5 separate regions of the Homo sapiens genome follow, and all the other regions are linked to region 1. Evidence: promoter capture Hi-C in 16 types of primary human blood cells and fetal thymus (Javierre and others, 2016). All regions are on one chromosome and are shown on one strand. Each heading gives the region's core, a stretch centred on a gene start or on the middle of the fragment in contact. The rest is flanking DNA. Distances are from core to core; before and after follow the strand shown.

Region 1 (4,387 bases), core at 683-3,182:
GATGACTGCCTGAAGCAAAGAACATCTGCTGGGGAAGATGTGGTTATGGGGGGCCCTCAGACTTGGATAAGCACTGAGCCCTGTGCTTTGGAGGGGTCTGAAATCCATGGAATCATGGGACTGTAGCCACCTGCAGCCCACTTTCCCTTTTCCAGACCATGCTGTGGGCACTCTAGTATTCCCTATCCCAAACGCCAAGCCTGACTCCAGGGTCTGCACAATCCTCTTCCCAAGTTCAGTCTTCCTGGGGAGTAACCAAAGGGTGAGGCTTGGACAGAAGGCTGGAGAGTCTAACATCAGGCTCAAAAATTGTGTGAAGCATTCTCTGACTCTTCCAAGACAGAAATGTTATTTTCTCTGAGGTCAAAATACATTTTGTCCACTTTCATCACATCAATTAATTGGCTCTATTGTTATGTATTATATTATGATGATTTTCTTCAAGTACATTTTCTGAGGTCTCTAGATTAAAAAAAAAAACTATGAATCCAGATTTTGAAATTATTTCTATCAGCATGTGTTCTGTACACTGACCCACGTTGTAGTGTACTGCTGAAGGGTGTCCACACTTAAGCGATCTGGTCAAAACATAAGCACGTTTTAACAAGACCATTGATTAGTTATGACTACAACTCCCAAGATGCACTGCAGGGTCAGTGTGCGCGTCTCGCCTAGTTTTCACCGATCAGGCTAATGAGCTGCACAGAAGTGGCAGCTGAACAAGCTGAGAGACTGTATTAAAGAACGAATATAGCGGGGATGGGGAGCAGGCGTCTACGGTCCCAGCTACTCGGGAGGCTGAGGTGAGAGGATCGCTTGAGCCCTCAAGGCGGAGGCTACAGTGAGTCGAGATAGCGCCATTGCACTCTAGCCTGGGAAGCAGAGAGAGACTATCAAAAACAACAAAACGAATAAAGGGATTCTACCAAGAGTGAGCTGGACTGAAATAAACGACACGCTACTACGACCCAGCGCGTGACTATATCCACCGCACAATGTGCGATAATAGCCTCAATGCAGAGAGAATTCCTCCTTTCCTTATTCAGTGCAAGAGAGCCCTATAGAGAACGCAGGAAATGCCCGCGAGAAACTGAGAAGTATCAAAACAATCACAGATATGTTAGGAAAGTAGCTCCCCGCCACTTCCCTAAACTTATCATAGCAGACTTACTTTCCAAGGTTACAAACACAAGAAGAGCACTGTATTTTCATGAAGCGGAAAATGTGCTTTACAATCGCCAGCTACTAAGAGCCTTAACGGTGAAGCGCTCTGCAAGAAACAGGAAATCGTCAACACACTTTCTGCATGAATTGCCTGGAGAGTTGTGTCCATAGACAATTCCTGGTTAGATGCTTAATTGTAGCAGACTCCATAACGGGGTTTAGCGGGTTTCCATTCGGCAGAAAGGGCTCCACGTTCTTTTTCACAGAAAGGTTTAAACTTATTTTTCCTCCTCAGGCGGACGAAGTGAGCGTCGTTCCGTGAAGGTATGAAACCCTTTTCCTTCCTTTCTGTCCCTGGTTACTCCGGTTCAAGGCTACGTACTTCCCCGGTTTGCTTTGTTTTTTCCTCAGAGCTAAGTTCCTAGGAACGTCACATACTGGTGCCATCCAACAACATGACGACGTGCGGAACCGAAGTCCCCTTCCACCTAGCGGCCTCTCGCGGCGCAGGCGTGGACGGGGAGATCGCGAGAACCTCCCGCCCAATTGCGACCCCGCGCCAAGAGGCGGGGCCGAAAGAGGAGGAAGTCGGGCCGAAAGAGGAGGAAGTCTCGCCGAAGTACTCCCGCCCCAGTCGGTACCCCTCCTCGCGAGAGCGCCGAGCATTCCGGCCTGGGAAGCGCGTGCAGAAGCGGAGGTGCTGCTCATGGGACTTGTCGGCCGCCGTAGCCCCTGCTAGGACAGCCCGTGCGAGCCTGCTGGAGGAGGAAGAGAAAGGCAGAGAGAGTCGGGTTACAAGATGGCGGATCTGTAGTAGTTACCGCGGCGGCGGGAGAGCAAGCGAGCCCTGGGGGGCAAAGAGACGGGAGAGTGGGTGTATGCGCGGGTGAAGTGAGAGGTAACGGGGCCTCCGGGCGGAGAGGCCTCAGTGGCTCTTGTCACCCCTTCTCGCGGCTGAACCTTTGGAGCCATGGTGAATTCGGGCCTCTCCGAAGCCGCCGCCGCCGCCACCGCCACTACTGCCTTTACCGTCTCCTAAGAGTGAGGAGCGCGGACGAGGTAAGCGAGGAGGCGGCGGCTAGAGCGGTGGAGACAGCAGCCACCATGTCGGATACGCGGCGGCGAGTGAAGGTCTATACCCTGAACGAAGACCGGCAATGGGACGACCGAGGCACCGGGCACGTCTCCTCCACTTACGTGGAGGAGCTCAAGGGGATGTCGCTGCTGGTTCGGGCAGAGTCCGACGGTAAGGTTATCGGAACTGTAGAATAGGGGATAGTGCCTCTGGTTGGGGCACAGCTTGGGTTTAGGGCCCTGGGCCCGTTACCGTTGCTACTCCTTCGGGACAGCGCGTTGGTTCTGAACTGGCTCTTGTGTACGGCAAAAACAAAGTACTGTACTTTTGACTGGACTTATCCTCGGAGACCGAGACTCTCTGTCCTTCTCCCATCTCTCTTAAGGATTGGACTCCTTCCTTTCCAGTCCCTCCTCTTTTGAAGAGGGGAGAGTGTGAGAGAGAAGGGAGGAAGTAGTGAGAGACTAGGTACTGATGTCGCCCTAGGAGCTGACACCTTCCTCCCCCTTTATTTACTTATCCATTATACGTCTAGTACAAACGGTTTAGGGAAACTTTTCTTTCCGAGTGTTTTTAAAAAAAAAAAATTGTACCAACGGGCCCCAGGTGCCACAGTCGACAGGTGCTGGGGAAAACCGAAAGGCACGTTTTCCTGGCTGTATTGCTGACTGTTGCCACGATACATGGACACACAAGCACATACATCTGTAGTCTGCATTTCTTCGGGCTGCCTTTGTAGAAGGCGCTATGAGAAAGTGAATGCCTTACAATCTAAGCAAGTTGGGACACCAAAGCAGGTTGTAAACTGCTGTGTTCTTTGGTTTATTGTAGTCATGTGAAGTATTTTAAATTACAAAATGTAGAGCCGTAATTAAAATGCCTTTTATAGTATAATCTGGACTTGATTTGAACAACTGATATAGGCAGTTAGAAAAATAATCTTAGGTTTAGTCTTGACATATTTTGTATTCTTGCTTGTTCCCTTTTATTTTAAATAGTCATCACTTCTACAGAAGGTGTTCTTTTGTTCTTAATGAGGAAAGGATAAATGCAGCACTGTAATTTCTATACTAAGTATTTAATCCCTGTCATGATGTTTTTGTTTTGTAATTTGCATTATTTGTTAAACTGGGAATGCAATAAAACAACTTTTGTTAAAACGAATGGCTTGAAGTGGTCATTTAGACCTTAAAATTTTTATTTCAATAAAATTTTAATAGTCATCTAGTCTCCTCATTCCTTGGTTTGATTGTTGGTTTTAGATTAATTTTTCCTTTAAGGGTGTATGGGAATAGGGTGAAATATTTTAGATTAAATGTGAAGCCTAGATTTGGAGAGAAAATGTGAATTCGAATACATTTTATTAAGATGTCCAACTCGGTAAAAAGACTTGAAAAGTTTGCGGGGGCGGGGGGCGGGGTTTAAATGTGTATTTTTTTTTTTTTTTTTTTTTTTTTGGAGACAGAGTCTTGCTCTGTTGCCAGGCTGGAGTTCAATGGCGCGATCTGGGCTACTGCAACCTCTGCCTCCTCTCCCTCTCTCTCAAGCGATTCTCCTGCCCCACCCTCCCGTGTACCTGGGACTACAGGCATGCGCCACCACGCCCAGCTAATTTTTGTATTTTTAGTAGAGACGGTTTCACCATGTTGGCTGGAATGGTCTGGATCTCTTGACCTCGTGATCTGCCCGCCTCCCAAAGTGCTAGGATTACAGACGTGAGCCACTGCGCCCGGCTTTAATGTGTATTCTAATTTTTATTCAGGGTTTTATCATTTGAGACTTATGATGTATTATTTTTTATCTTTCAGGATCACTACTCTTGGAATCAAAGATAAATCCAAATACTGCATATCAGAAACAACAGGCAAGTAGTTGTTTATCTTTAATTTGAAAGACTTCATCTGTGATCAAGGAAGTATTAATCTGACAAAGGTGGGAAAGCTTTCCTGACAAGAAAAAAACATGTTTGGTAAACAAAGATCATGTGTATTTCTCTTGCAGGTTAAAAGTTTCAGACTGAAAAAAAGTTTTTGTACTGGTGATAATTATCATTTTTGGATTGAGCCACTGTCGGTTTATTCTAAGATGTATTTATTAGTATTATTTAACTGTAGTTAGCCAAGTCTCTTCTATACCTTGTACATGAAA
Region 2 (4,387 bases), core at 1,131-3,630, 5.9 Mb before region 1:
GTATTAACCATAATGAAAATTGGTTTGGAGAAAGAAATTGCATGTTTGACATGGTTAGAGTGGGTTGTTTTGGAATATTATACTTGTTTTGTCCTTAAGAGCCAAATGTTATTAAATACTTTGTAGGTATTAAAGGTTCTCTGTACTTTTATATATACTTAATATGTTTGGCACTAATACGATTCTTCTACTTTTAAAACATTTACAGAAGTACTTCACAGATATGTTTGTTTAAATAAAAACAGGAATACCAAGTATTTTTATGTTAGTTGAATTTTGTGCACTTTTCAAAGTGGTACTGTTAATGTAGGGAATTATCTTAAACATAAACCAAATTTTGATCAGTTTAAGATTTTTGGTTTTTTTGAACCCAACTAAAAGGTGAAACAGAAATGTGTGTACAATTTTAAATTGTATATGTCACAAGAAAAAAAACTTGATTTTTTACCTGTGGGGCCAAACTTTTTTTTGAGACAGTCTCGCTCTGTGGTCCAGGCAGGAGTGCAGTGGCGCTATCTCAGCTCACTGCAACCCCTGCCTCCTGGGTTCAAGCGATTGTCTTGCCTCAGCCTCCCTGGTAGCTGGGATTACAGGCACACGCCACCATGCCTGGCTAATTTTTGTATTTTTAGTAGAGATGGGGTTTCACCGTGTTGGCCAGGCTGGTCTTGGAACTCCTGACCTCAGGTGATCCACCTGACTCGGCCTCCCAAAGTGCTGGGATTACAGGCATGAGCCACCGCGTGCTGGCCCAAACATGTTTTTGAATGAGTAAAAAGTTTTGCAGTTGGGTCAGAAATCTTTTTTTTTTTTCAGATGGAGTCTTGCTCTGTCACCAGGCCTGAGTGCAGTGGCACAGTCTCGGCTCACTGCAACCTCTGCCTCCCAGGTTTTCAAGCAATTCACCTGCCTTAGCCTCCCGAGTAGCTGGGACTACAGACGCGCCACCATGCCCAGCTAATTTTTTGTATTTTAGTAGAGATGGGTTTCATCATATTGGCCAGGATGGTCTCCATCTCCTGACCTCGTGATCCGCCTGCCTTGGCCTCCCAAAGTGTGGAGATGACAGGCATGAGCCACCGCGCCTGGCCAGAAATCTTTTATGGTAGTTTTGTTGCCAGAACAGTAGATTTCTGGTTAGATAAATGTTCAGCTAGTAGATGGGAGGTTACTTATATTGTCAAGATATTTATATTTGCATAATTAAGAAACTGAGTGCCGGCCGGGCGCGGTGGCTCACGCCTGTAATCCCAGCACTTTGAGAGGCCGACGCCGGCGGATGACGAGGTCAGGAGATCGAGACCATCCTGGCTAACACGGTGAAACCCCGTCTCTACTAAAAACACAAAAAATTAGCCAGGCGTGGTGGCGGGCGCCTGTAGTCCCAGCTACTCGGGAGGCTGAGGCAGGAGAATGGCGTGAACCCGGGAGGCGGAGCTTGCAGTGAGCCGAGGTTGCGCCACTGCACTCCAGCCTGGGCAACGGCATGAGACTTCGTCTCAAAAATAAAAATAAATAAATAAAATAAAATAAAAAAACCTAAACCTGAGTGCCATTACACTTTCTGAAAATATATAAGGTGGATACAGTACTATCTTTTATAGTAGTCCAAAAAGCATCATGTATAAATGTTTCCATTCCCTTATGAAATGCAACAGTACTGCTTTTACTATAGTAGAAACTTGAAAAAGGTCCATGGAAACGCTAAAAGTAGAAAAAATTACTCTTGCAGTGATTCTGTAAGCTTGTTAGCCCAGGTTTATACTTTTAGGGCGTTTTGATCAGTATATTATCTCCTAAAGCATTCTTGAAAAAATTAACCATCCGTATTTATTATCCCTGTCATTTAGTTGTTACTCATGCTATACATTCAACATGAAGCTTTAAGCTTCATTTCTTCTAGCATGGATGCATAGAAAGCAGCTGCTTTTGGAGGAAGCTATGAAAGTAAGGTTGGGTTCAACTCTGAATGTAATATTGGAAGCACAGGTCTGTAGCCATTGGGAAAAAGGGCATTTAATTTTTTCCGCATAGATTCAGCTACTAATACTGTTTAATCTTCACACTAAACTAGTTCACTACATCTAAAGGTATGATAAATAAACCAACATAGAGCAGTGTTCTTCATGGCTTGTAACAGAATTAGTGGCAATTTTTGTAATTGAGAATATATTACAGCAATACTGCTTTTAATAATGTTTCATAGTATTAAGAAATTTAATGGTTTGTTTTAAAATTGACTTGTTAATAAAAAGTAGATTAAGAAAAGTGTTTCTAAATTTTTTTGTTTGTAAGGACAATAGGTTAACTTTCCCAAAGTAAAAGGATTTTGTCTGCAGTAGTTAATAGATCATGTGACAAAATCAGTTGCGTAGAAATAACTAGCAAACTTATTTTGTATTATAAATGAAGAAACAAGATTTAGAGCTTAAAGCTGGTTAAGGAGTCCTTTTGGTCTCTAAAAGTCCTATGTCGTTAGTTCAGTCTACTTTTCGTTTACCACCTCCTTGGGGGTCTTATTTCAAAGGAAAAGGAGTAGTAGTAGCAGCGAGCTGCTATAGTGGAAAACATGATTTTTAGTGTTAGACGTCTTAATTTGATTCTTGGAAGCTCTCTCTAGTCATTGCTTAAGTCCCATGTACAAATATGACCTGTCCTACAAGAGATTGGAGGGTTAGTTATGAGGTTTAAAAGCACCTATTACAGTGCTTGATAGGTAGAAGGCACTCAGCTTAAAGGGTACATTTAGCAGTATAATGAAAATGATTTAGCATATGTGATACTCATTGCTTAAAATTAAAAAAATTTTTTTTTTGCTACTCATAAAATATGCACTAATGACAAGAAAAATTTATTATGCTAATTAAGCTTTTAAAGTCAACTGGGAAAAAAAGCTGTAGGTAGGTTTTTTTTTTTTTAAAGGAATGTGTAACTTGGGGGAGGGGAAGAAATTATTTACAAGGGTGACTTTTAATCTGTAGACAGAACTTCTGCATACATGGTTAGTATAGTAGGATATTTAGCAGTGTAACATTAGGACTACCCTCTACCCTCTGTTATCAGCATTTTTCTATTTTTAGCCAAGTAGACAGCTAGAAAAAAGATGCGGGAAGAGTTGGATGTTTTCTCCAATATTGTGTTCTGTTAAAGATCTTGAACTCTATTGCTTAGCAACTAAAATGCTTTCACCATTCAGTTAGTAGTACAAGGGAGATGCTAGGTTTTCTCTCTTTAGTTTGCTTTTGTGTCTTTTTTTTTTAAACCCCTGCTGGGGTTTTAAGTTTATAAAGAACATTATGTAAGAATGGTGGGATTAGAATAAATCAGAATGCAAATACTAGAAGTAGCATCAGAGAGTAAAATTACAACTAACAGGAAAGAATATTATTTATGTAGCGATTGATGTGAGTGGTGATAGTGTGGGAAGTATTTGATTCTGTGTAGAATGCTTATCACTTCAAAGCATCTGACAAAATGGTAACTTGACCAAGTAACTTTTACTGTGTGAGGATCTTTGATACAACTTTTCCTCTAGTTAGATAAGGTTATCTAGCTAGATATTCTCAGGGAGAAGACCAAAACACTGCTAAAATGTGCTTTGGCCCTAGATAAGCCACATCATTATTCTTTCGGCCTTCTGTCATTTCTCATATGACACATTATGCCCATCAGTCCTTTAATGAAATCAAATAGAAATGTGTATGATTGTATTTTAAAGTATACACATTAACTCTTGTAACCACAGACTCACAATGGAAGCAGGCGTCTGATCTTTTCAGGCAACCACAGTGGTTCTGGTGGGTTTCTGGGTAGAGAACAACCATATAAGTTATTGAGTGTGTAGCAGTGTGTTTTCCTGATTGATGTATGGGATAGTCATGAATGTGGTATTGTATTTCCTACCTGAGGAAAAGGTCATGATTAAAATAAAGCATCAAAGCCAGGATAAGCATATAATTTCTTTCTTTTTTTTTTTTTTTGTAATGAGACAGAGTCTCACTCTGTAGCCCAGGCTGGAGTGCAGTGGTGTGATCTCAAATCACTGCAACCTCCGCCTTCCGGGTCCTGGTTCAAGCAATTCTCCTGCCTCAGCCTCCTGAGTAACTGGGATTACAAGTACGCCCCACCATGCCCAGCTAATTTTTGAATTTTTAGTAGAGACGGGGTTTCACCATGTTGGCCAGGCTGGTCTTGAACTTCTGACCTCGTGATCCACCCACCTTGGCCACCCAAAGTGTTGGGATTACAGGCGTGAGCCACGGTGCCCACCCGAGCATACGATTGTTTTAAAAAAGACTAGAATAAAAGCCAAGCTAAAGATTATAAGGTATCTTTGTCAGAAATGGTTGTGAGAGTGCTTCCTACCCTGTTTTTGATGCTTTATTGT
Region 3 (4,387 bases), core at 693-3,192, 5.9 Mb before region 1:
TGCACCACCATGCCTAATTTTGTATTTTTAGCAGAGATGAGCTTTGTCCATGTTGGTCAGGCCGGTCTAGAGCTCCCGACCTCAGGTGATTTGCTCACCTCAGCCTCCCTAAGTGCGGGATTTCAGGAGTGAGCCAACGCGCCCAGCCACCTTTTAAATTTTTGTAGACACAGGGCTCCCACTATGTTTCTCAGGATTGTTGCTTACCTTTTATCAGGAGGAACTCAATTATGTATGGCCAGCCCTAGAAAAGCCAGATCACCATGATGGTTGGTTTCAACTGCTACCTGAAAAAACGTGAGACCAGCACGTTGGCTCATACCTGTAATCCTAACATTTTGGGCCGGAGGATCAGTTGAGGCCAGGAGTTTGAGACCAGCCTGGGTAACATAGCAAGACCCTGTCCCTACTAAAAATAAAAAACAATTAGTTACGTGTGGTGGAGAGCGCCTGTAGCCCCAGCTACTAGGGAAGTGGGAGGATCCCTTGAGCCCATAAAGTGGAGGCTGTAGTGAACTGTGATCGCACCACTGCACTCTAACCTTGGCGACAGAGTGAGACTTTGTCTCAAAAAAAAAAAATTCAAATAAAAATAATTGGGGTTGTGTTGGCAGGGAAAAAAGGGATACGTGGGAATGTATGTTGAGTGGACAACGAATGTCTGCCTCAGGATCCAAAGTAAGTCTGCAAAAACCCAATTCTGTGAGAAAGACAAGGAAGAAGGGAAGATGATGGTAGAATAGAACTACAATCCTAAGGATCACCTGCTAGTGGGAAACAAAACGGGTTGGGCAGACTGTTTATAGTATCAACTTCAAGCAGCAGAAAGGCAAAGCATTTGGAACCAGGTGGTTCTGGCATGGAGAGATGGGCGTGCCATAACCTCCACAAAAGCTATCGAGAGAATGACTACAGAGCCTTGACAGACACTCTGGTTACCGTTCAGAGATTCTGTACACGATCTTTCGGACTTTGCAGTCACATGTCTATGTAAACACGTTGAACACAAAAATTAGCAAGCAAGGGGTAAGTGCCGGCGTGAGGAAAATTCCCTTACAAGCTTCAGCTGACTGCCCCCTTCACCTGTTCTTTATCTTAATATCCTTGTTATTCGCTCTCTGCTGAAGAAGATTTCTTGCTATTTCAGGTGGGGCTGATGGGCACATCGTGAGGGGCCCTCTTCCGTAAAAACGAGACGATGTCAGGCAAACACTCCTTACCCTGCCATTTCTAGTTACGTCAAGGATCTTACTGCTCCAGGACGGAGGACCTTCAAGGAACTGCAGGGTAGCGATAATCACCGATGCAGTTAAGCCGGGCCCTGGGCTGATTCACTCTCAGACCCCGGGGGGAGTGGCCCTTGCGCCCGAAAGAGGGCTACGGCGTAGACCCGGCCCGGCACCCAAGTTGACTCCTTGCTTCCCGTACCCCAAAAGCCTAAGCGCGGAAGAGGCCGGGGACACCAAAGAAACCCGCACCAACTCCCCGACCCAGGCCCTGGGGAAAAATGGCGAAGCCCAGGGGCGGGGGACAGGACGGAGCGAGTGACCTGGCGCTCCCCGGGCCTCAGAGCCCGTGGAGTGGGTCGTGGTGGGCGACGCCACGCAACCGCGACCCGTCCGTTGCCTCCGCCATCTTCTCCTACTCACCCGGACTCCCCCCGCGGCCGCGCTGGCTTCGCGTTTCCCTTCCGGCCGCTGACAGAGATCCGGGCTGGGCGGGGTGGGCGAGCGCGCGGAGGGGGTGGACCGAGGGCGGGGAGGCCGGACGGAAGAGGAAAGGGAGGGCGGCGAGCCGGCCACGGCGGGGTGTGGAGCGTGCGGCGTGTGTGCGGAGGGAGAGGTGGGGGGCGGAGGAGAGGCGAGAAAGGGAGGGAGGCGGAGGAATGAGAGCGCGAGGCGCCTCTCGTCCGCTCCTAAGCCCGGGCGGAAAGAGCCGAGCGCAGCCCGAGCGCTCTGTTAAAATGGCGGCGGCGTCGGCGGTGGCCGCGGCGTCTGGTCGGTGAAGTGACTCTGCTGCTTCTCTCCCCACCCGCCCCCTCCCCCCCTCTCCCCTCCCCCCGTCCTTCCCCCCCTTCCCCGCCGCCGGCGCCTCGGCGCCCCTCCGGCCTGCGCACCTCCCCTCGCTCCCCTCCTCTCCCCCTCCCGCTGCGGGGACCGCCGGCCCCCTCCCCCATTCTCTTGCTCCCCGCCCCGTCCCCGCCGCCGCCCGCCCTAGTCGCCTCCCCGCCCCGCCGGCCGGCCGGCCCCCTCCTCCGCCTCTCTCCCCTCCCCCCCGCCGGTCGGGATCAGTCAGTGTGATCCGAAGCGGGGGAGGGGGGGGGCGGCGGCCGAACGATGTGCGAGAACTGCGCAGACCTGGTGGAGGTGTTAAATGAAAGTAAGTAGCCGCGGTAGCGGCCTGTCGGGGTGCACGGTTTGGGGTCCTCGCGCAGCTCTCTGGCCTCCCCGGGCTGCCGCGGCCTGCGGGAGGCGACGGCCGGGCCGGGCGGCGTGCGGGCCTAGCGCCCCGGGAAGGTGCGCGGTGGCGCGGCCGCCGCGGCGCCTCGGGCCCAGCCCGGCCGGGTTACCTGGGCGCCCGAGAGGCGGCCGCCGCGGAGCTCCGGCTCGGCCTGGCCCGGGCGCTCTGGGCTCTCGGAAAGTTTCCTCATTACAGGTGTCAATTAATGAAGGCAGTAATGAACCCCTCGCCGCCTTCGCCTCCTTCGCCCTGCCGGGAAGGTGCGGGGAGGTGGGGTCGGAGGACGAGGCTTTCCTCCGCAGTCCAAATCCTCCGGCCGCCCTCTTTGATTTCCAGCGTGCTGCCGAGGCCTCTCTTACCTGCTAATTTTCATTAAACTCCCGGGAGCAGGGTGGTGGTTTTTCCCTCCCTTGCGGGTTTGTGGGTGTCTTAAACACTTCAGCCAGACCTTAAATAGCTGAAAACGAACTGTGATAGTGATGATTGGAACCTTCATACCTATTTTTAAAATAAATTTGTTAATGATGTTTCTTAGTGTAGCATTCACCGCTTTAATGGTACATTCTGTTAAGCAGAGCACTGTACTACACATACCATCCCGGGATAGTTATGGCCTATCTCTCTTGGAAGGAAAGGCCTTTTACCTGGTACTTTACTTTTTATTATTAAAAAGGGTACGTTGATCTTTTCTGGCCTTTTTATTTTATTCTCGACCCTTGCAAGATGGTATTTCAGCTTATAGAAGATATATTGCAAATCAACTACTTCTGGGCGTAAAGGCCTAGTTGGCAGAGGTGAATTAGATGAAGGGATCAATTTACAAAAAGTTGATTGTTGAAAAAATGCTCACTTATGAACAGTTTATGTGGGTTTTGGATTTGTATTCTGTTTGTGATATTTCCACAGACTTTCAGACTATCTAATTTTGTAATACAATTCGCTAAAACAGTTGATTTATAAAATGTACCATGGTATTTGTGTTTGACTGTCACTTTAATGACCAAAGACAATAATAAAAGTGGAAGGGTTCTAACTTAATTTCAACTCCGTATTTACTTCCTGATAGGTGGAATAGGCTTTTGCACATATTCCAACTAGAGGTTCCAGTATTTGTGTCACCCTAAATTATCCTAGAATTTTAAGATTATTTGTGTGTATTTTGAGATACTTTTATTTCTGGCGCAGGCGGTTTACGATATGATAAACTTAAATCCTCAATACTTACTGTGTTTTATATCTCACATACAAGTCGTGTGATTATGATTGTTACGCTCAACTTGGAAAGTTAATCGTTTTGCAATGTAATATGAGGAACAAGTACTTAATTTTGTTGGTGATTTTAAATATCTTTTTTTTTTCTTGAGACAGAGTTTTGCTCTTGTTGCCCAAGCTGGAGGGCAATGGCATGATCTCGGCTCACTGCAAACTCTGCCTCCCAGGTTCAAGCGATTCTCCTGCCTCAGCCTCCCAAGTAGCTGGAAATGTAGGTTCCCCACACCATGCCCGGCTGATTTTTGTATTTTTGGTAGAGACGGGGTTTCACCATGTTGGTCAGGCTGGTCTTGAGCTCCTGACCTTGTGATCCGCCTGCCTCGGCCTCCCAAAGTGCTGGGATTACAGGCGTGAGCCACTGCGCCTGGCTGATTTTAAAATATCTTAAACTTGGAAAATTTTAAACAAAACATCTAAAGAAAGTAAAGTTGGTTTATCTTTTGAAAAGAGGTGGCATCTTGATCATAATGAAAGGTCTTATTTAAGATTATCTGGGAAACCCCTAGAACTTTGGTTAGAAGCACTGAAAAATGCAGTGCATTTATGGAGTGTTAGAAATGTGGAGAATTGAAATAGAATTTAGCTTTTATTACCTTTAAGCAAATACAGTTAGTTCAACCAGCTTCTCAAAATCTGGTCATGTGCACCCTCTAAG
Region 4 (4,387 bases), core at 1,387-3,886, 5.6 Mb before region 1:
GGATTCTCCTAGATGTTTGCCATCCTGTACTCTACTGGTGGTTTCTCTACTTTTCCAAAACAGAACTCAAGTGTAGAGACCTTATCAGAGTCATCTCCATCCCCTGAAGAAATGCCACGTTGTTCTCTACAGTAGAAATCTTTCAGAGGCTAGTATACACTGATCTTAGCTCACTTGACTTAGCATACAGTAGGCATTCAGAAAATGACTTTTATCAGTTGATTTTTGAGCTGAGTGTTCTGTTCAGTCAATTGGAGATCTCGTTTTCCCTCTCCACTGCTACTGCTGTTCTTTTTCATTCTTCCTGATTTGGGTAGTTTCTTGGTTTCTGTACTCTCCCACTACCTATTGCTCCCTATTGCTTTCTCTACTTCTGCATCGCAGGACTCCCTTCGCTTGACTTCTTTCACAGACAGAACTCACTGTGCCCCCAAATTTCCCTTAAAACAAAGCCTAACCATATAAGGCCTCCAAAGCTTCCAGTGCTATAGAAGCAGCCATCCTGAGCAAGAAACAGAGGCAGAGGCACAGGCTGTGACTGGTAGACCAAGGCAGGTTTTTCCTAGTGTTAAGGATCTCAAGACCTGGGTCTTGGTCCTACTTGAATCCTAATTTCTTGACTGACCTTGAGTAATTTACTTATGACAGCTGCATACTTTAATAAGATATACACATATGCATATATATATATATATAATCTAAATTTTGTCCTATTTAAAAAATATATTGCTTTTTTCCATATAAATTATTAAAATGCACATTTAAATCTATGGAGTGTATCTGCTTAAAGACATACTACTTGTGTTTAAGAGCCATGACTATTTGAAAACAGGAAAACCAAATTTTAGTAAAATTTCCATATATTGAGACCACTGATTCTGTGTGAGATAATTAGGAAAGAAGATTTATTGTTTACCCTTGCAGTGTTTATGGGGGGAAAAGGTATTTACAGAATTACTGTTGCTAGCGAGAATATACAGTAAAGTTTAAAACATTTTGGAGAATTGATTTTGATTCTTAAAATGTGTCTTTTTGCAACATATGCTCTGGTTACCTATAAATACATTAATTTGGCCCTTGAAAACATTCACATCCTATTCTTTGTTAGCCTTATTTTTCCAGTCCTTGTTAACTCTCTCAGTGCTGGATAATAAACCTGCATTTCTTTTAAAACATTTGTTCAGTTTCGGCATCAGTGTCTTCCCCCAGCACTCCCTTAATCTAAATTAGTAACATTTTACTGTATGAAAAATAGTTGCTGTTAACTAAAAATTCAATAGGTGAGTTAGACATGGCTTTTCAAGTAGGATTTTCAGTGGCTTCAGATTCCATCATACACAAGTGTATGTTTTTTCTGTGTAAGTTTTTTCCGTGTAAGTTTTTTCCGTGCTCAACCGTAAGTGCTCAACCATCTTCTCCCCACTTTAGTCTGCTATGTCAAAAAACTGCATCAAGCTTTTGTGTGAAGATCCTGTTTTCGCAGAATATATTAAATGTATCCTAATGGATGAAAGAACTTTTTTAAACAACAACATTGTCTACACGTTCATGACACATTTCCTTCTAAAGGTACGTAGTACTTTGGAAACTCAGTGTGTCATTTCTAATTAGTTAATGCTTGTGGTTTCATTATGCTGGTCTTTTGGAGATTTTTTTAAATCTTCTTTTTCAGGTTCAAAGTCAAGTGTTTTCTGAAGCAAACTGTGCCAATTTGATCAGCACTCTTATTACAAACTTGATAAGCCAGTATCAGAACCTACAGTCTGATTTCTCCAACCGAGTTGAAATTTCCAAAGCAAGTGCTTCTTTAAATGGGGTAAGAACTATGCAGAGGCGGCGGCACACACTTTTAAACTGTCCTTCAGTTAACTGTGTGGCCTTCATATGATTTTACTCTCGTAACTTTAACTTACTGATTCAAACTCTTAAGCCATGTGCGACAAAAAAACAAGTTTTAAATACACGTTTACTATGCCTTGTATGTACACAGCACACTCTATCACCTTGGAAGCTACAAGCTGGTATCATTAAATGCTGAAAGGTAATAAAGGGAACATCTTAGTGGTCTTATCTCTAGTTGGGTATATTTTTGGAAACAATACTTGTGATGTTTCTATTACTGCCTATGGCTCCTATGTAACTGAAACAATTAATGATCTACTGATTTAAAAAAGGCAGTTAAATCTAGAGCATTAGTTGCCTTGTGCAGACTCCCATGACAGCCATGTCCTAGAATAATGGAACACTCTGGAAATGGGCTAGAATGTTGAGCAGCAGCCTCCCAAATCACAGTATGCATAAAAGCCAAAACAGATGACAGAGCTCAGTAAGGAAGACCTTACTATTTGTGACATCCATCAGAATTTTAACTTGAGAAACTGATTTCAAGGTTTGTTTTTAAAATTCTTATATTTCCTTTTCCATTTTTCAGAAAACACTATTTCAGGCTTTGGTCTGACTTACTGGTTCGTGGGCATAAAATAATGCTATTAGTGACTTTAAGAACTAATGAGGCTGGGCACGGTGGCTCATGCCTGCAATCCAAGCATTTTGGGAGGTCGAGGCCGGTGGATAACGAGGTCAGGAGATTGAGACCATCTCAATGGCCAACATGGTGAAACCCTGTCTCTACTAAAATAGAAAAAATTAAGCCAGGCGTGGTGGCGGGCGCCTGTAGTCCCAGCTACTTGGGAGGCTGAGGGAGGGGAATCGCTTGAACCCGGGTGGTGGAGGTTGCAGCGAGCCGAGATTACACCACTGCACTCCAGCCTTGCCAAAGAACAAGACTCCATCTCAAAAAAAACAAAAACAAAACAAAAAAAAAAAACAACTAATGAAATGCTGTAGTATCTTAACACTGGCTTTCTGGTTTTATCATTCTAAGAATCCCAGAGAAACCAGGGTATTCTTAGGAAAGAATGGATTCCTGGGAAAATAAACATCTGCAATTAACTGTAAACAACTGCATCAAAGTGTTGGCTTTAGAATTTGAAATGTTCCTATCTGGGTTTTTGTAGGACCTGAGGGCACTCGCTTTGCTCCTGTCAGTACACACTCCCAAACAGTTAAACCCAGCTCTAATTCCAACTCTGCAAGAGCTTTTAAGCAAATGCAGGACTTGTCTGCAACAGAGAAACTCACTCCAAGAGCAAGAAGCCAAAGAAAGAAAAACTAAAGGTTAGCTTTATGGACTACTATCATTACCTTTAGGGTGGGAGGAGGGAGTAATACACTTGGTGTAACTGGTTTAAGAGTTGTGTGTTCAGCTGAACCTCCTAAATATAAATGCTAGAAACAAAATTAACTTCCCACATCCCCCCCTAACGTGATCTTAATGACTTTCAGAGAAGTTTCCCTTTTGGCATGTGTTTTCACAGATGATGAAGGAGCAACTCCCATTAAAAGGCGGCGTGTTAGCAGTGATGAGGAGCACACTGTAGACAGCTGCATCAGTGACATGAAAACAGAAACCAGGGAGGTCCTGACCCCAACGAGCACTTCTGACAATGAGACCAGAGACTCCTCAATTATTGATCCAGGAACTGAGCAAGATCTTCCTTCCCCTGAAAATAGTTCTGTTAAAGAATACCGAATGGAAGTTCCATCTTCGTTTTCAGAAGACATGTCAAATATCAGGTCACAGCATGCAGAAGAACAGTCCAACAATGGTAGATATGACGATTGTAAAGAATTTAAAGACCTCCACTGTTCCAAGGATTCTACCCTAGCTGAGGAAGAATCTGAGTTCCCTTCTACTTCTATCTCTGCAGTTCTGTCTGACTTAGCTGACTTGAGAAGCTGTGATGGCCAAGCTTTGCCCTCCCAGGACCCTGAGGTTGCTTTATCTCTCAGTTGTGGCCATTCCAGAGGACTCTTTAGTCATATGCAGCAACATGACATTTTAGATACCCTGTGTAGGACCATTGAATCTACAATCCATGTCGTCACAAGGATATCTGGCAAAGGAAACCAAGCTGCTTCTTGACATTAGGTGTAGCATGTCTACTTTTAAGTCCCTCACCCCCAACCCCCATGCTGTTTGTATAAGTTTTGCTTATTTGTTTTTGTGCTTCAGTTTGTCCAGTGCTCTCTGCTTGAATGGCAAGATAGATTTATAGGCTTAATTCTTGGTCAGGCAGAACTCCAGATGAAAAAAACTTGCATCTTCAGTATACTTCCTAAAGGGCAATCAGATAATGGATATGTTTTATGTAATTAAGAGTTCACTTTAGTGGCTTTCATTTAATATGGCTGTCTGGGAAGAACAGGGTTGCCTAGCCCTGTACAATGTAATTTAAACTTACAGCATTTTTACTGTGTATGATATGGTGTCCTCTGTGCCAGTTTTGTACCTTATAGAGGCAGATTGCCTCCGATCGCTGTGGTT
Region 5 (4,387 bases), core at 1,290-3,789, 5.1 Mb before region 1:
TAACTGGTCAAAACACTGTCTTACCACTACTAAGTACACAGAGTAAGACACGCTGTAATAGCTAAAGATCTCATTAGAGGCCGGGCGTGGTGCCTCATGCCTGTAATCCCAGTACTCTGGGAGGCCAAGGCAGGTGGATTACTTGAGGTCAGAAGTTCAAGATCAGCCTGGCCAACATGGTGAAACCCCGTCTCTACTGAAAATACAAAAAATTAGCTGGGCATGGTGGCGGACGTCTGTAATCCCGGCTACTCGGGAGGCTGAGGCAGGAGATTCGCTTGAACCCAGGAGACGAAGGTTGCAGTGAACCAAGATCGCGCCACCACACTCCAGCCTGGGCAACAAGAGCGAAACTCCGTCTCAAAAAAAAAAAAAAAAAAAAAATCTCATTAGGCAGAGAGGGAGAAAGAATCAAATGGAAGATAAAATAGCCTGTATACCTTCCAAAATGACTCAAAAAAAAAAAAAAAAAAAAAAACCCCAGAAACCAAAATACTGGTTAATTTATCTTCTGTATTTATTTTGTTGTAGAACAAACAAAACTTCAATTAGTTATTTCAAGTGGTAATTTCTTTTTAAAGATTTGGCTTTTTACCTCTGAGAAAGCTAGAGCAGTGTTTTGGTATTGTTTGTGTAATACATATGTAAATATATACGGTAAGTGAATAGGACAGAGTAATTATCTACATATCTATATAGTATCACTCAATCGCAATAATCCTAAGGGGTATTGAATAAGTGCCATTTTACAGATAAGTACCTGAAAGTCAAAGAGAGGACAAGCCAGAATCTGAACTCCAAAACCTCTTTCCACTACTCCATTCTCTCCTCTCTAACTACTTCAGCTCTGACACCATGATGACGGGCCTCACTTTTTTACCTGTATGCTGACAAAGTTGGCCAACTAGCCTACTGGCCCTAAAATTCCAAATCCAGGTTCTGAACTTCCCCCATCTAGAGGGGAGGGGAAAGTAAACAACAGAATCCCACATTCCCTTCAAACCATCAATTTCACTTACAGGCAAACAACCTAGAGAAATTCTAGTTACAAGCGTACAAAGAGACACCTAAAAGAACGTTCACTGTCACATTGTAACATTAAAAACTTAGAAATAAAATAGTCACTAACAGGAAAAGAATTAAATTAGGGTGTTTTCCTACAATAGAATACAATACAATAATTAATATTAATTAATTACAACTAAAATACTAACATGAACAAAGCTCAGAGATACTATGTTGTGCTAAAGAAGTTACAGAATTCCAAGTGTGATACGAGTTATATAAAGTTTAAAAACAACTAGAACTATGCCAGTTATTATGAACACATGTGTATGTAGTAATAGCATTAAAAAACATGCAGCTCCCATGATTCGAGGGCGGAAAAAAAAGAAGTAAAATAAAAAACAGGCAGCAACGATAAACATCAAATTCAAGACTGTGGAGACATCTGGAGCAAGAGATGATTGGGACCAGAGAAGGAGGTAGGAGAGTCCTTCAGATGTATCTGGAATGCTTGATTTCTTTTTAAAATAAATACACAGATACGTATATACACACCGTGTGTGTGCGTGTGTGCATGTACGTGTATGTGTGTACAGTTACGTTTTGGGAGAAATGGGTGGTGGCTCCACAAATGATGCTTATGTTATTCTCTACATTTTTCTGCATGTTTAAATTATTTCCTAATAGACCAAAATGGAAGAAGCTACAACAAAATCTTGCCAAGTACGGGAACTGTTTCTGACTTATCAAAGTGTGAACAAGAGGTACAGACCGGTAGATGTTGTGGGTAGGTGGGGAAGCAGGGGGTGAGGGAGAGGGTGGGGACGGCGGTGAAAAGACTGTAGCCTCATATGAAAGAGAAACCCTTGGGCTGCGATAGGTCTTTCACTCCTGAAGACCTGGAGACAGCCGGTCGGGAAGGGAGGAGGGGGAGGCAGGGGGATGGTATTTGCGCCAATGCAGACAGGAGCAGACGGGCTCAGACAGTGCTGGGGGCAGGCGAGTGACCGACAATTTCTCCCTACGGACACAGGCACCTCTTTCCCTCCTCATCCTTTTCTGAGGGCGTCCTCGGAGGCGGGACAGCTGGGGACTCCCGGAGTCCCCGAGTCCGTGCAGGGGTGGCCAGGTGAGCCGCCGGGTTTAGGGGAGGTGCCCTTGCGGACCGGCCGGGAGCCGGGAAGGAGACCATCCCGGCGAGCTGCGTGCAGGGCGCAAGGGACAGGGAACGGAAACAAGGACACAGTCGGACCACCTCAGCTCACCCCTACCCGCCTCACCCCAACCGCCGCCCCCCACCACTTACGCAGACATCTCTTTCATCGCTTCCTGCGTCTCCCTCTCCAGCGAGTGTTTATCGCTCTGGAGTCCTGTTCTTGCTGTTCCCTTCTCCCCCTGTTCACTTTCCTCCGGTCGCTAGTAGCTCGCTTGCTCGCTCACTTTCCCACTTACTATGGCTGAGGCATCCAACCGAGTAGTGAAAACACCACAAAACCGGCTCTATTTATGACAATACAGCGCGGCCGACGCCAATATGGCGCCGCTTCCCAGCCTGCCTCTCGCAGGTCTCAGCCCCGCCCCTGGAGGTCTGGACCACCCTCAGCCACGCCCCCTCTGCCTTTAGGTCCCGGGAGGCTCCGGGGCCCCGCCCACAAGCTCAGGGCTCTCAGTATACCGTTGGTTCGAAGGAGTATTTATTTGGTACTCTCCTTTGTCCGCGGTACTGTCAATGCCGGTAGACCGCTTGGAAGGAAATTTGGAGATATGTTTTCCTTGCCTCTCGAATGGCAGCATATATCATACATTTTTTAAAAAGGTCACACCCTTGCCTAGCAAAAACTATTTCAACGCCTCCGTTATCCTACATCTTTGATTTAATTATAGTTATACATAATTAACTCACCAGTTGAGATTTTGTCTCGAAAGGGTCACACCCAGGAACATACGACTTTCACACAAGTATCCCAGGGAAAAACAAGCTTGTAAATTGGAGGCTTAACTGTTCACTTCACCCCTAAGTACCACCTTTGATTAGTGACATTCTGGCATTTAGCTGACAGAGGTTGAAAATAGTAGCTAGCAGTTTGCAATAGGATAAATCCCAGGCTGAAACAAAAATCTTACACTTTTAAATAGTGGAAATCATGTTCGATGTGAGTGTGGGGATGAAAATGAGAAAATAATAACCAATTTTAAAATGCTGAAAGGTAGAAGTAATTTCAAGCACTAAATCATTACAAAGAAAAGGAAGTCAAGAACTGCTTGCTCTTGAACATAACTCAGAGTCACAGTAAATAGAGGAGATTACTTGCTGATTAATTCATTAAAAAATATTTATTGAGGCAAGATACAGTGGCTCACACCTGTAATCCCAGCACTTTGGGAGGCCAAGGTGGGAGAATTGCTTGAGGCCAGGAGTTCGAGAACAGCCTGGGCAACATAGTGAGACCCTGTCACTACAAAAAGTTTTAAAAAAATTAGCTGGGCATGGTGGCCCATGCCTGTAGTCCCAGCTACTCAGGAGGCTGGGGTGGGAGGATCTCTTTGAGTCCAGGACGTGGAGGCTGCAGGAAACCAGGATGGCACCACTGCATTCCAGCCAGAGTGATAGAAGGAGACCCTGTCTCAAAAAAATAAATAAATAAATAAATAAATAAAAACTACAAAACATATTTTTGAAAACCTGAGCAAGGTGCAGTGGCTCTTGCCTGCAATCCCAGTGCTTTGTGACGCCAAGGCTGGTGGATCACTTGAGGCCATGAGTTCTATTAAGACCAGCCTGGCCAACATGGCAAAAACCCATCTCTACTTAAAAGCAACAACAAAAACCTGACGTGGCCTGGTGTGGTGGATCACACCTGTAATCCTAACATTTTGGGAGGCTGAGGCGGGTGGATCACTTGAGGTCAGGAGTTCGAGACCAGCCTGGCCAACATGGTGAAACCCCATCTCTACTAAAAATAGAAAAACTAGCTGGGTGCGTGGTGCGCCTGTGATCCCGGCTACTCAGCAGGGTGAGGCAGGAGAATTGCGTGAACCCGAGAGGCAGAGGTTTTTTTGAGATGGAGTCTCGCTCTGTTGCCCAGGCTGGGGTGCAGTGGCGTGATCTCTGCTCAGCCTCCTGAGTAGGTGGGATTACAGGCATGCACCACCACGTCCAGCTATATTTTTGTATTTTTAGTACAGACGGGGTTTCACCATGTGGGCCAGCTAGTCTCAAACTCCTGACATCAGGTAATCCGCCCACCTCGGCTTCCCAAAGTGCTAGGATTACAGATGTGAGCCACCACACCCAGCCAAGCAGTGTTTTATTATTTATTTATTTATTTATTTTTGAGATGGAGTCTTGCTCTGTCACCTAGGCTGCAGCACAGTGGCATGA

The links. Contacts are between HindIII fragments. The CHiCAGO score rates a contact against its expected background, and 5 or more counts as called.
Region 2: a fragment that was not itself captured here is called in contact with the fragment with the promoter of PPP4R3B in region 1 in 2 of 17 cell types (monocytes and fetal thymus); the score reaches 5.9 in monocytes.
Region 3: a contact is called between the fragment with the promoter of USP34 here and the fragment with the promoter of PPP4R3B in region 1, in 1 of 17 cell types (monocytes). The highest score is 6.1, in monocytes.
Region 4: a fragment that was not itself captured here is called in contact with the fragment with the promoter of PPP4R3B in region 1 in 1 of 17 cell types (monocytes); the score reaches 5.9 in monocytes.
Region 5: the fragment with the promoter of PAPOLG here is called in contact with the fragment with the promoter of PPP4R3B in region 1 in 1 of 17 cell types (activated CD4 T cells); the score reaches 7.4 in activated CD4 T cells.

The regions. Positions count from the first base shown.
Region 1 is chr2:55,615,167-55,619,553 of GRCh38, reverse strand. PPP4R3B (protein phosphatase 4 regulatory subunit 3B) reads left to right here and starts at 1,932. Exons shown (of 17, transcript NM_001122964.3): 1 at 1,932-2,410; 2 at 4,048-4,103. The coding sequence starts at 2,269. It overlaps PPP4R3B-DT (PPP4R3B divergent transcript), which reads right to left and starts at 1,624. Exons shown (of 3, transcript NR_186624.1): 1 at 1,172-1,624. RefSeq lists enhancers at 1,562-1,611, 1,632-2,031, 1,125-2,049, 2,050-2,976. The HindIII fragment of the contact is 10,945 bases long and covers 1-4,182 here.
Region 2 is chr2:61,529,260-61,533,646 of GRCh38, reverse strand. All of the region lies in intron 2 of XPO1 (exportin 1), which reads left to right. Among named protein-coding and RNA genes, the nearest start is that of XPO1, 6.9 kb to the left of the region's middle. The HindIII fragment of the contact is 980 bases long and covers 1,891-2,870 here.
Region 3 is chr2:61,468,642-61,473,028 of GRCh38, reverse strand. USP34 (ubiquitin specific peptidase 34) reads left to right here and starts at 1,942. Exons shown (of 80, transcript NM_014709.4): 1 at 1,942-2,379. The coding sequence starts at 2,337. It overlaps USP34-DT (USP34 divergent transcript), which reads right to left and starts at 1,933. Exons shown (of 3, transcript NR_185882.1): 1 at 1,650-1,933. RefSeq lists silencers at 1,691-2,000, 2,031-2,110, 2,201-2,620. The HindIII fragment of the contact is 6,929 bases long and covers 1,063-4,387 here.
Region 4 is chr2:61,187,700-61,192,086 of GRCh38, reverse strand. It overlaps USP34 (ubiquitin specific peptidase 34), which reads left to right. Exons shown (of 80, transcript NM_014709.4): 77 at 1,429-1,569; 78 at 1,673-1,816; 79 at 3,018-3,177; 80 at 3,378-4,387. The coding sequence ends at 3,985. It also overlaps the pseudogene AHSA2P. Among named protein-coding and RNA genes, the nearest start is that of C2orf74-AS1, 12 kb to the right of the region's middle. The HindIII fragment of the contact is 2,357 bases long and covers 1,458-3,814 here.
Region 5 is chr2:60,754,420-60,758,806 of GRCh38, reverse strand. PAPOLG (poly(A) polymerase gamma) reads right to left here and starts at 2,539. Exons shown (of 22, transcript NM_022894.4): 1 at 2,312-2,539. The coding sequence starts at 2,328. RefSeq lists an enhancer at 2,314-2,623. The HindIII fragment of the contact is 3,911 bases long and covers 1-2,986 here.